Regions from separate parts of the Homo sapiens genome. Here all the other regions are linked to region 4. The links are contacts of gene promoters, found by promoter capture Hi-C in blood cells and fetal thymus (Javierre and others, 2016). All regions are on one chromosome and are shown on one strand. The core of a region is centred on a gene start or on the middle of the fragment in contact, and the rest is flanking DNA. Distances in the headings are between cores, read along the strand shown.

Evidence for each region. Contacts are between HindIII fragments. The CHiCAGO score rates a contact against its expected background, and 5 or more counts as called.
Region 1: a fragment that was not itself captured here is called in contact with the fragment with the promoter of SPRR4 in region 4 in 3 of 17 cell types (endothelial precursors, M0 macrophages and M1 macrophages); the score reaches 6.0 in endothelial precursors.
Region 2: a contact is called between a fragment that was not itself captured here and the fragment with the promoter of SPRR4 in region 4, in 1 of 17 cell types (M0 macrophages). The highest score is 6.9, in M0 macrophages.
Region 3: the fragment with the promoter of LCE1D here is called in contact with the fragment with the promoter of SPRR4 in region 4 in 4 of 17 cell types (endothelial precursors, erythroblasts, fetal thymus and 1 more); the score reaches 10.5 in endothelial precursors.

Annotation. Positions count from the first base shown.
Region 1 is chr1:153,196,454-153,199,153 of GRCh38, forward strand. It overlaps a transcript of SPRR2G not described here. Among named protein-coding and RNA genes, the nearest start is that of LELP1, 5.6 kb to the right of the region's middle. The HindIII fragment of the contact is 1,093 bases long and covers 802-1,894 here.
Region 2 is chr1:153,170,973-153,173,672 of GRCh38, forward strand. It overlaps a transcript of SPRR2G not described here. Among named protein-coding and RNA genes, the nearest start is that of SPRR2G, 21 kb to the left of the region's middle. The HindIII fragment of the contact is 3,626 bases long and covers 1-2,700 here.
Region 3 is chr1:152,795,281-152,797,980 of GRCh38, forward strand. It overlaps LCE1D (late cornified envelope 1D), which reads left to right and starts at 1,441. Exons shown (of 2, transcript NM_178352.3): 1 at 1,441-1,491; 2 at 2,493-2,700. The coding sequence starts at 2,515. The HindIII fragment of the contact is 8,213 bases long and covers 1-2,700 here.
Region 4 is chr1:152,969,371-152,972,070 of GRCh38, forward strand. SPRR4 (small proline rich protein 4) reads left to right here and starts at 1,278. Exons shown (of 2, transcript NM_173080.3): 1 at 1,278-1,324; 2 at 2,501-2,700. The coding sequence starts at 2,521. The HindIII fragment of the contact is 3,718 bases long and covers 1-1,671 here.

The sequences.
Region 1 (2,700 bases), core at 98-2,597, 230 kb after region 4:
TCTGTTGATGGACATTTAGGTTATTTTCACATCTTAGCTAAAGTTTGATTAGATAAAGCTGCTTATTCCAACTGCTACTGTTCCAGCCCATGCTGCCTCCTGTGGCAAAAGAAGATCATTAGGGAAACACAGTGCTGCCTCCCACTTTATTAAAAAATATGAAGACCTTGTAAAGCTGGTTAAGAAATTGACAAGAACTACTTCAAATCATCTGAAAATGTCCCCCAAATTTCCTGACTTTGTGATCCCACACTCAGTGAAGGAAATGGGTCTCTGCTTTTCACTGCCTTCCTTACCTGTGCAAAGAGATCTCGCTTTGTGCCCTGAGCCTGCAGAAGTCACTCTCAACCTGCTGAGGGATTTTCTCTTCATCTCTGCTCTCTCCATTAAGACATCTGCCCCAGTGGGCCCCCAGTTTATTGCCCTTGCTTGTAGCTGGGAAGGTGATGGTGTCACAGGAGGAAAAAGGAAACAGAAGCCTGGTGGGCACCTTAGGAGGAGCCCTCAGGTAAAATGTGGACTCCACAGAGGAGTCCGGTAGAGCTTCACTCAAGAGAATGACTCCCATTTACCCACAGGATCCTTCCCTACCGTGCCTGGCCCAGCTACCTCCCTGCCAAGTCCACTCCATCCTGTGTCCTCCCCAGTTCTCCTGAAGTGGGTCTCACCAGGCAGAGAATGTGTGTGTGTGTGTGTGTGTGTGTGTGTGTGTGTGTGTGTGTGTGTATGTTGGAGGATGAAGAGGAGGTGCAGGGCAAGATAAACCCTAGCTGCAGGGAAGGGGAGATGGACACTCGCTGAAGCTTGAGTCCATCTCTGCTTGGGAGCCTGGATCAGATGGCGGCTGTATCCTGGACAAATCCAACAAGATCTGGGATTTTCAGCCTACACAGCCCAGCGGTACCTGCCTCCTGGAATCTCTGGGCCTCATACAGATATATTCATGTTGGAAGCTGACCCTGAGAAACAGATCTCCATCTCCATAAAGTTGGATCTCCCTCCTCTGACAGACAGTTTATTTGATTCTTATCTCCCCTGCTGAACTTTGTCTTGTATATCCATTCATTTATTTCCCAAATATTCACTGAGCATCTATTATATGTCAGGCCCTGGCCCAGCACTAAAGATGCAAAGAATAATAAGAAAGCCCTTTCCTGGATTAGGGCACTGTATGAGACAGAAGACAGCATTGCCCCCCGGCAGAACAGGTGGGGAGTCAATCCATGGGGAGCACATCAGGCATGTTCAGAGATGGTATCTCTTAACTGCAGCAGGGTGGGGGTCCAGAGCAGTCCACATGGAAGGTGGAATTTTCAAATTGTATATAGAAGATAAAAAATAAATATCAATAAGGCAAAAAGGAGGGGGATACTCCAGTTAGAGAGAAAAGCAATTGCGAAACCATTGAAATATTATTCCATCTCCTTATTGACAAGAAGCATTAACTATTGCCTGGCCAACATGTGCCAAGACACACACTGGACACTGCAGAAACAGAGATTTTAAAAAGTAATTGGTTCCTGATCTCTACACTACATCATGTGAGAGAGTAGATCAGGAAGTAAATAACTACAAAATATGGGGATAAAAATTTCAGAATGAGCTTGGCTAAGGCAACTAACTGCCTGGGAAGGTGAGAGAAATCATGCCCAAGGAGAATTTCCTATGAGTTCAAGGTTGAGGAGGAGAGAGGGAGGACTCGGCTGGCAGAGCAAAAACTCGGAGTTTAAAAAAATAAAAAAAGTCTAGCATATTTTGGAAACTGCAAGTAGCTTTACCCCAGAATCTACGGTAAAAGTAGAAGACCGAGCTGAAAGTAGACACCAGATTAGTAAGAGTTTTGTTGACCCAACCAAGAGCCTTGGGCCTCATCTTAAATTCAATAGTAAAATTAAGCTTTTGTTTTATAAAATTCACTTCGGCAATGCTGTGGGGGTTGAATTAGTGGTGAGACTCTTTGGAGACAGGGAGACCTGTGATGATGATGCCACAATAAAGGCAGCAACCATGGCTGTGAGAGAATGGGGGACCAACTTGAGAGAAATGTGCCTGCAGCTCCCAAACACACCCTGGCTTAGAAGCCTGTGGCTCAGGAGGTAGAATCTGCAGATCCTGATAGCACATTTGGTGTGAGGTTGAGTAGGAAGCAAGAGTCTGGGATGATCCCAGGTTTCTTGTTAAGTCTTGGTGGACAGGATGCTATTCACAGAGTCGGAGCGCATAAGAGGAGCAAGAGGGGCATGTTAGGAAAAATGTGGAAGGTGTTGAACTCTGATTTTGTAAAATCAGCTTGAGGTACCAAAGTACATCCAATGGATGTTAGTATTGGGACCTAAAGCTCAGGGAAGAGGGTGGGCTTTGGGATTCTCTATGCAGAGCTGGTACTTTCAGCAATGGTGGATAATAATATCAGCAGCAAGGGTGAAAAATGAAGGTGCAGGTGATGTTGAAAGGATTCAACAGAGGAGAAAGGGCTCGGGAAGGAGAGTAGATGAGGCTGTAAGTGGGAGTCTACCCATGTCACAGAGGACCAAAAGGGAAGAGGGTTAAAATATAGGACACAACTGTAACAATTACTGCAGTAAAGTCAAATAGGATAAACCCTGAACCATGTCCATGAGGATTTCGTAGAACATTCTTCCCCCTTTATATAATGAATGAGCAAAAATACACAAATATCAAGAAAAACTTACGCAATGG
Region 2 (2,700 bases), core at 94-2,593, 200 kb after region 4:
ATCCAGGATCCACGATCAGCTCATTCCACCCTCTTTGGCCTTGGCAGTGACATCACATGGGAGGGTCAATCCTCCCTCTTTTCACGGAAGAGTACTTTGCTTGGCAAGGCTGTTCTTGTCACTAGTGTTTATTTGTTCACACCTGCCTTAAATGCCAGTATGACTGAAATGTTGAAACTCTCTCATCTTCATTGGTTTAGCCTAAATTTTCCCAGGCAATTAGTTTCTCTGAATATGAGCAGGTAAACACCCTTCCTTCCTCCACCCTTTTCCCGGCCGTCCTGGGACTACTTGAAACACAGGTGTGTCTTACCACACACAAACACTAAAACTCAAAAAGAGAGTAAATAACAATTACAGCTACTATTGAGCTAATGGATTGCATATAAACATTCAAGATTCTTGGACTACAGGAGCCTTTACACCCACTCGCCTCCCCAGGAATGCTTCCCTGTATTCATTCATCAGACTGACATTTGAGAATTTGGGTTATACGGACTTGTGTGATCACACCATATACCCTTTCAGTACCTGAATCTCCACTGCACATGCCACCGCTTTTCCTCCACCCAGCCTACCACCACTCACCACTACGGACATTTCTTCAGCAGATAATTGCTCACTTTTTCCACTGGCTAGGGCTTGGGTATCATGCACCAAAATGCTGAAAGTTGACTGGAAACCCTGTGTATTCATCTCTGGTGAACAGCCACCTCTCAACTTCACAGCTGCCAACAGATGGTGGTCCCATCTCCCTGGCACAGATAGTGAAGTCTCTTTTTTTGCCCAGGTATGGTTCCATAAGCACAGTTTTCCCTACCAAATAATACAACAAAGCAAACACATCAACCAGTGAAATTAGTGGATGTCTAACATTACCCAAAGACCACAATTCCCCTCTTGAGCTCTGCCCAATGCTTCTGCCCTCCCCTCCCATGCCCCCCGAATCCCCAGCCCTGTACTCCAGCTATCAGTATCTACGTCTGTCCTTTGGCCATGTACTAAGGACTTGTTCAGACCTTCTTCTTTGGTTTACCAATTTCCTTTTACACTCAACTTTAATCCTCCATTGAAATTGGAGCGACCTACAGCTTCAGGTATCCAGCATCCTCCTGAATACATGAGACAAGTGACAGTCAAGCCATGTCCCATGAGAGGACCAGGAATTGGCTTCCACTCTACTTCACCTCTCACCTTCCAGGGTCTATCAACACTCCCTGACTGAAAAAACTATCCTTAAATTATAACTCTCATGCTCAGAAGACCAGGTCTACTTCTCCAGACTGTCCCATTTAGTTTTTTCTAATGAACCTTTTTATCTATCAATTCCACAGAGTTCTTTCCTGGTGGCACCTATCACAATACGTGGTCTGGTCTCATGCGGTTGACTTTTGCTGTAGCATTACAACATAAGTTCAAGTCTTCTATCACTAACCTACCACCTACCAGTCCTTGCACACATCCTTCCCCCACTCAAGAGTCCTGCCCCCAATGCACCTCATTGCACCTTTCCTTTGGCTGCCCCCACAGAGACCCCAGAGATACTGTGGGAAAGGGCTTCTGTGTCCTCTTTCTCCCAGGCTACCCTTCCTCAGGAGATGGAAACCTTGCTAGTCACTCAATACCTGCAAAACTGGAGTTTCCGGTACAAAAAAAGAGTTAGACACATCACATTAGTAACTGGAATGAGGCACCCAAAAAACGGAAAACTGGGGCAAACCCTTTTGTTTTCCAAAAGTTTGACTGTGCTTGGGATCAAAGGTACAAGATTACTTTTTATGCCACCTTAATCCTCTGAAGCAGGAAGTTGAAGAAGAGACAGCTACTGGGATTATCCCTAAAAGGAGAGAAGAGTTCCATTAGGGCTTGGGCTAGCCTTCATCTGGGCCGGAAGAAGATTGTATGGTTGGACTGACAGTGACCACTTTTTTCAAGGTGGGGTTTTAAAGAATTAGGATAGTTAAGTGCATAAATAGACAGGCGGACAAACATAATATAATTCTAGAATTAACTTTGGAACTCTTACAAGTCTTCAATATTAGAGATGAAGAAATAAAGTCATGGAGATACTGAGGAACTTCACTCAGACAGCACAGCTGGTTAATGTCAGTAAAGCTAGCATCCACATGTTCACATCCTATCTCACGTTCTTTCTACAACCCCAAGAGGGCTTACTTCACTTAAATTGAAGTCAAATCCCAGCTATTCAGAAACCACAAAGAACAGTCTTCAAATGAGGACACAGACCTGAGAATTTGAGTGAAGGCCTTGGGACAGAACATGGCTAACACTTCCAGAACCCCCAGGCTTGTGATATTCGATTACTCCCTGGCTGCTCTTTCAGAGCCTGTGGTTTGGACAATAAGAAAGAGTGAAGTTGTCCTACAGACAGAGGGAAATAAATATGGAGGTTGTCCTACAGAGAGAGGGAAATAAATAGAGGGAAATGATGGAGGCTCTAAAGGGAAGTCAAACAGAAAAAAAAATCTCAGATAAGAAAAGGAATCATGGGATCAGAAGCACATATTGAATGGAAATCTGCTCTAAAATACCTCCTGATGGTCTTTCAGCCTCTGCTTGAAGTCTGTCCACAATAGAGTGCTCTGTACAAGGGAGGCAACCAGATTTATTATTAATGAACTTACTTAGAAACTATTTCCTTGGTTGGACTGAAATGTGCTTCCCAGTGACTTCTGTTAC
Region 3 (2,700 bases), core at 191-2,690, 170 kb before region 4:
TTTTGGTTAGGGTCACCATGTCCATTTTGACCTAGATATCATTCCCAAGTTCTGGGCATATCCAGAGTCTGTCAGGGGCTGGGAAGAAGAGGACTTGTCCCTCATATGGTTTAATCTGGCTTTTCTTGGTCTTCCTCTGAAGAAATAGTTTAATTTGTGGATAACCTTGCAGTCATGGCTGTCTTAGTGACTAGTGTGTCCTAGAATGAACAGCAGCCCATTTCATTAATATCCTAAAAATGTATAAATTCAGAACACTCCATTCATATAAATCCTGTGGACATGTAGAAAGCTAGTGATTCTAGTGGAGAGAGAGGAGAGGGGCTTCCAAAGTAGCAGCATAAACACATTCACATTAAATATTAAGGACTCTTGTTCTTAAAAGGCACCCGTCCCCTTATGGTCCAGGACGGGGTTCTGCCAGCCATTTGACCCCACATGGAAGCGTAGACTTATAATGTCTCACAACCATGTCTCTTTTCTTCCTGTTTCTCATCTGTGACCATCATCCGGTGCTCCCAGTGTGAACCCAGAAAAGTCCAAATTCTCACACCAATACAAAGAGCAGAGCTGCTGCTTCTTGTTTCTCTAATGAGCTGCTTCCTTGTTCACATCTCAGTGCTGACACATCAAGGACCCCACCAGAAGAAAAGGGCTATTTAAAAGCAAACAGATCACCAAACAGCCAGACTCACTCTCATTAGAAAAAAGCTGTGCTTCGTTTGTTAAACAAAGATCAGTATCTTCATTCTGTATTCAGCAAGTTATGAATGTTTCACTTATTCAGAGCCTACAATGTTTCAGTCTCTCTGTCAGGCACATTTTCTCTTTTTTGTGTTACTTTATTGACTTTCACAACCAACTAATTCTTCTGTAACTAATTCTTTTTCATCTTCCAGCTTTATGGTTTAAAAAATGGTACAGGCTAAATAGTTTCAACAGTCCCATCTCGCAGGGCCTGGTCCTGGGCCGGGTTATACTTCCAGGGTTTTACTTGTGTAGATGTCTACACTGCACCCACAGCCACACAGTTTGGTGGTGCACAGGGACAGAAATAAACATGCATGGAAACCTCAGGGATTAGTACTTCAACTTCAACCCAGGCTGCACGGAGCATCAGGTACTTCGGAAGAGACAGAAATGAGATAGGTCCTAAGTTCTAAGACTGAGAACTGAGAGGCTCTCAGGGCAAGCAGCCTTCAAGTGAATGAGGTAGGTGATGGTAGGAGTCATCCTGGAACCCCGTTTCAAGTAGGCACTTTCCTACCTGGGAGTGGCTGCCTTGAGCCTGGGGAGAGAGGCAGGTGAGGAGCTGTCAGTCACCAACCATCACAAGACCCACGTGGGTGTCAGAAGGAAGGTCCTCTCATGCCCAGGCCCTGTCTCACAGCTGGGGCAGAGCCCAGGCCAGGATAAAAGGGCTCAGGGCCAGACCACCCCATCCACTCACCTCCTGAGGTGCTAAAGAACCCTGTGCTGCCTGTGACTCCGGTAAGAACAGAGCAGGGATGCTCAGAACAGAGCAGGAGGGAAGGAGGGGCAGGGCCTCCGGGGCTAGGGCCATGTTGTCAGAGGTGGAGAGTTTAGAAAAGACTGAAGGGGCGGGGGCCAAAAGGGGTCTGGCACTAACTGGGAGCAGGAAGGAAAAGAGGAAAAGAGCTGGCGGGCTGTGCCATGTGCCTTTGAACTCTAGAGGAAACAAACTGCTCTGGGATGAGGTGGGTGTTCCAGAGTGGGAACTTTGAAGCACAGAGACCTGCTCCACTCTGGCAGCCCACAGGAGGGAAGCCCACCTCTGAAGATACAACCCTGTCTCTGCCTGCAAGGGAAGAACTGGAGCTGTGGACATGGGACTAAAGACTCTTTGGGGTTTATGAACCCCACATTTTCATGGGTCTGAGATTTGTTCACAAACTTCCCAGCTTGGTTAGGACACACCAAGCCTGAGACCCACCGTGTCATCCCATCAGCCTGAGCAGGTGGTGAGTGAGGAAGTCTGAGCTCCAACCTGAGATCAGGGGGTCAGGGTTCAAGTACTAGTCTGCAGAAACTGCTAAGTTTATCTGTCTCTATTGAAGTGAGTTTACTGACCTAGTAGTCTCCAAGATCCTGCACAATGCTGACCTTCCAAAGTAAAATCGTCTTGCAAATTATGACCAGAGAGAATGACTGCTTCTTCTCCTTTAAAAATAATTTTCTCTTAAATGACTCATAAATTAGACAATTTCAGTCTTAAGATATATTTGTAATAATTTCTTCCTCCACTGACAACACATCAGAATCTTAGATGCATTTTGCAATATTGTTTAGTCTTAGTTTACAGTTGTCTGACATCCAAAGATATCTTGAAAAAGATGATGTGAGATTTTGAGGAAATTATTGGAAATAAAACTACTGAAGATGATGCTTTTAAACTTGAGAGGTGCTAAGAGTGTCACAGGGGCAGAGGTGGCCTCTGCCTGGGTCTGACTTGTTATTTGACTCTCCCTCAGCTCCTGAACACCCACCACCGAGATGTCCTGCCAGCAGAGCCAGCAGCAGTGCCAGCCCCCTCCCAAGTGCACTCCCAAGTGCACTCCCAAGTGCCCCGCCCCTAAATGTCCCCCTAAGTGCCCTCCAGTCTCTTCCTGCTGCAGTGTCAGCTCCGGAGGCTGCTGTGGCTCCAGCTCTGGGGGCGGCTGTGGCTCCAACTCTGGGGGC
Region 4 (2,700 bases), core at 28-2,527:
AATTGTCATGAGGATTAAATGAGGTGAGGGATTTGAAAAATGCTTTGGAAAGTACATTAAGGTATTCCTATCATTTCTCAGGCCATCCTACCCCTTCCTCTGGTGATGGCAGTGGTGAGCCCTTGCATGGCCTCTTGTTGGGCAGCATCCTGAGGTCGATCTTTGGGGTAGAGGGCTAGAGGTGGACCAGCTTCCCAGAGGCCCTGCCTTTCTCCATCCCAGGGCCTAGGAGGCTAAATGGAGGACCAGGGCTCCTTCCTGCCACCTAGATAAGGCCCTGAGTAGGATTGCTGTATTTAGCAAATAAAAATAGAGCCTGCCCAGTGAAATTTGAATTTCATATGAACTACAAGTAATTTTTGAGTATGTTTCCTGCAATATTTGGAATATACTTATACTTTTAAAATATTCTGTTATCTGAGATTCAAATTTAACTGAATGTCCTGTATTTTATGTGGCAAGTCTACCACAGGGGCCAATTCTATCCCATGTTCTGTAACCACCACGAATACTCCTCAGCACCCCAACTCCCAATGGGCAGATGGGGACAGCACCGCCGTGTGCTGGGGCACCATTCACATCATCTTCTACCTGTGCCCCAGAGAAGCCTCACAGAACACTTCGTGAACTGTCCCCCTGGAATAGGAAGGACACTTGCACTGTGTATTGAGGAAGGGGGATGAGTGGTACCTGGGGCTAGGCATTGAATCATCCAGATCTGAATTCAAATCCCATCTCTGCTGTTTAATCTTTCTCAGCCTCACTTTTTTCATCTGCAAAATGGTAACAACGACACTTTCCCTAGAGGGGCCATGAAGATGAAATGAAATAATAAGCATGACGGATGGTCCTGGTGCTAGCCTCACAGTGAGTGCTCAAGAAATGGCAGCAATTTGCAGAAAAAGGGATGTTCACATTTTTGTCAGAATTGCCCCAAACCCCATCCTCTCCCTCTTCCTCTTTTTTCTTCAATATTTCTTATAACTGTCTGTCTGCAAACAGCTCCTTCAATTTGTACTATATTTAAAAGATCTTGAATCCCTGAGTTTGAGCAAACACCTTTGGTGGGTTAAATCAGCTCAGGTGCAGAGACTTGGAATGCTGAAAATATATGGTGGGTGGCTTTCATCAAAACAGGTCAGCAAAGCAAGTCCCTGAAGGAAGTGCAGGTGGGAGAAGTGGGTGAGGAATTCCCTGGGAGGTGGTAATCAGGACCACACCAAGTGCCCAGGGCAGGTTGGGGGCCCTATAAAGGCTCCTGGAGTGGCTCTGCCTGTGGACAAGGGCTCAGCCTCCTCTCCTGGGGTCCAGCTTGTCGCCTCTGGTAAGTGAGAACTCATCTGTTCTCCTGGGATTTGTGGGGCGCTTTCCTTCTCCTTTAACTCCTTTGAGCCGCTAGGCCAAGATCCTCTTCCATCCTTGGGTAATCAGGGAAGTGACACAAGTCTTCTGACAATTGCGGAAATGGCACACTAATCGGTACTTAGAAAGTTTAATCTCCATTCCGCACCATTGCTCAGTATGACTTATTTTCTGATCATGGGTTTGACTCCCCAGAAAGAAGATTTTTATTGTTGAAGAAGGAGATATTTAGAGCTACAGGATTTTGTAGCAATTCCGAGCCCTGTTTAAAGGTTTCTCACACCCTATTCTGCATTTTGCTTACCAGTAAGCTTTAAACTTTTCTTCCAGGTGTATGCAAACAGGTATATTGAACATTTTATTCAATCCTATGCAGCTCTCATGCTTCCCTATTCTGATTGCCACCTCTTTACTTCCTGAGGCCTGCACTTCCCATCTATAATCATTAACTTAGACCATAAGGAACACTGCCTACAAAGATAGCCAGAGACCCTCATCAGAGCTGGGAAGGCTTCAGGGAACTTCCTGACCAGCATCCTTCTAATAAGGGTGCTGAGACCCACAGAAGGAAGGTTGCCCATGAAGTTAATGGCAGGATGGACCTAGAACCAATGTCTGAGCCTTCTTGGCTAGCGCTCTTTCCTTTGAACATCCTCCTGTCATCCTTTGGCTCCAGTGATCTATTTGGCTGGCCCTCAAGCTTCCCAGTTCTTTGTAGAGGGCTGGAACCACTATCCTGTAGCCACATAGGACTTGCCTTAGTCTCCCATGGTGAGTCAGGGGTGGAGCAGGGATTAGAGATCAGGCCTCTGCATTCTTATACACCCCTTCTCCAGCCCGATCTCTCACACACACACACACACACACACACACACACACACTCACACACACACCATGATGCTTACCTGTAAGACAGAGACTGTTTTTGTCCTCTCCTCATGCCCCTACATCCTTGCCCATTCTCATTGTCTGCATTATCAAAGGGAGCCAGTTGACATTGTCCAGATCTGTCAGCTAAGATGGCATGCTTTGACCTTGTAAAATGTCTGGGCTACTTTTTAACCATCTTTTTAAAAAGGGTGTTAAAAGGCTACTTTTTAACACCCTTCTCATGGTGTCCCTGCCCGGTTTCCTTTAGGCTCACCTGTTCCTAGAGCAATGTCTTCCCAGCAGCAGCAGCGGCAGCAGCAGCAGTGCCCACCCCAGAGGGCCCAGCAGCAGCAAGTGAAGCAGCCTTGTCAGCCACCCCCTGTTAAATGTCAAGAGACATGTGCACCCAAAACCAAGGATCCATGTGCTCCCCAGGTCAAGAAGCAATGCCCACCGAAAGGCACCATC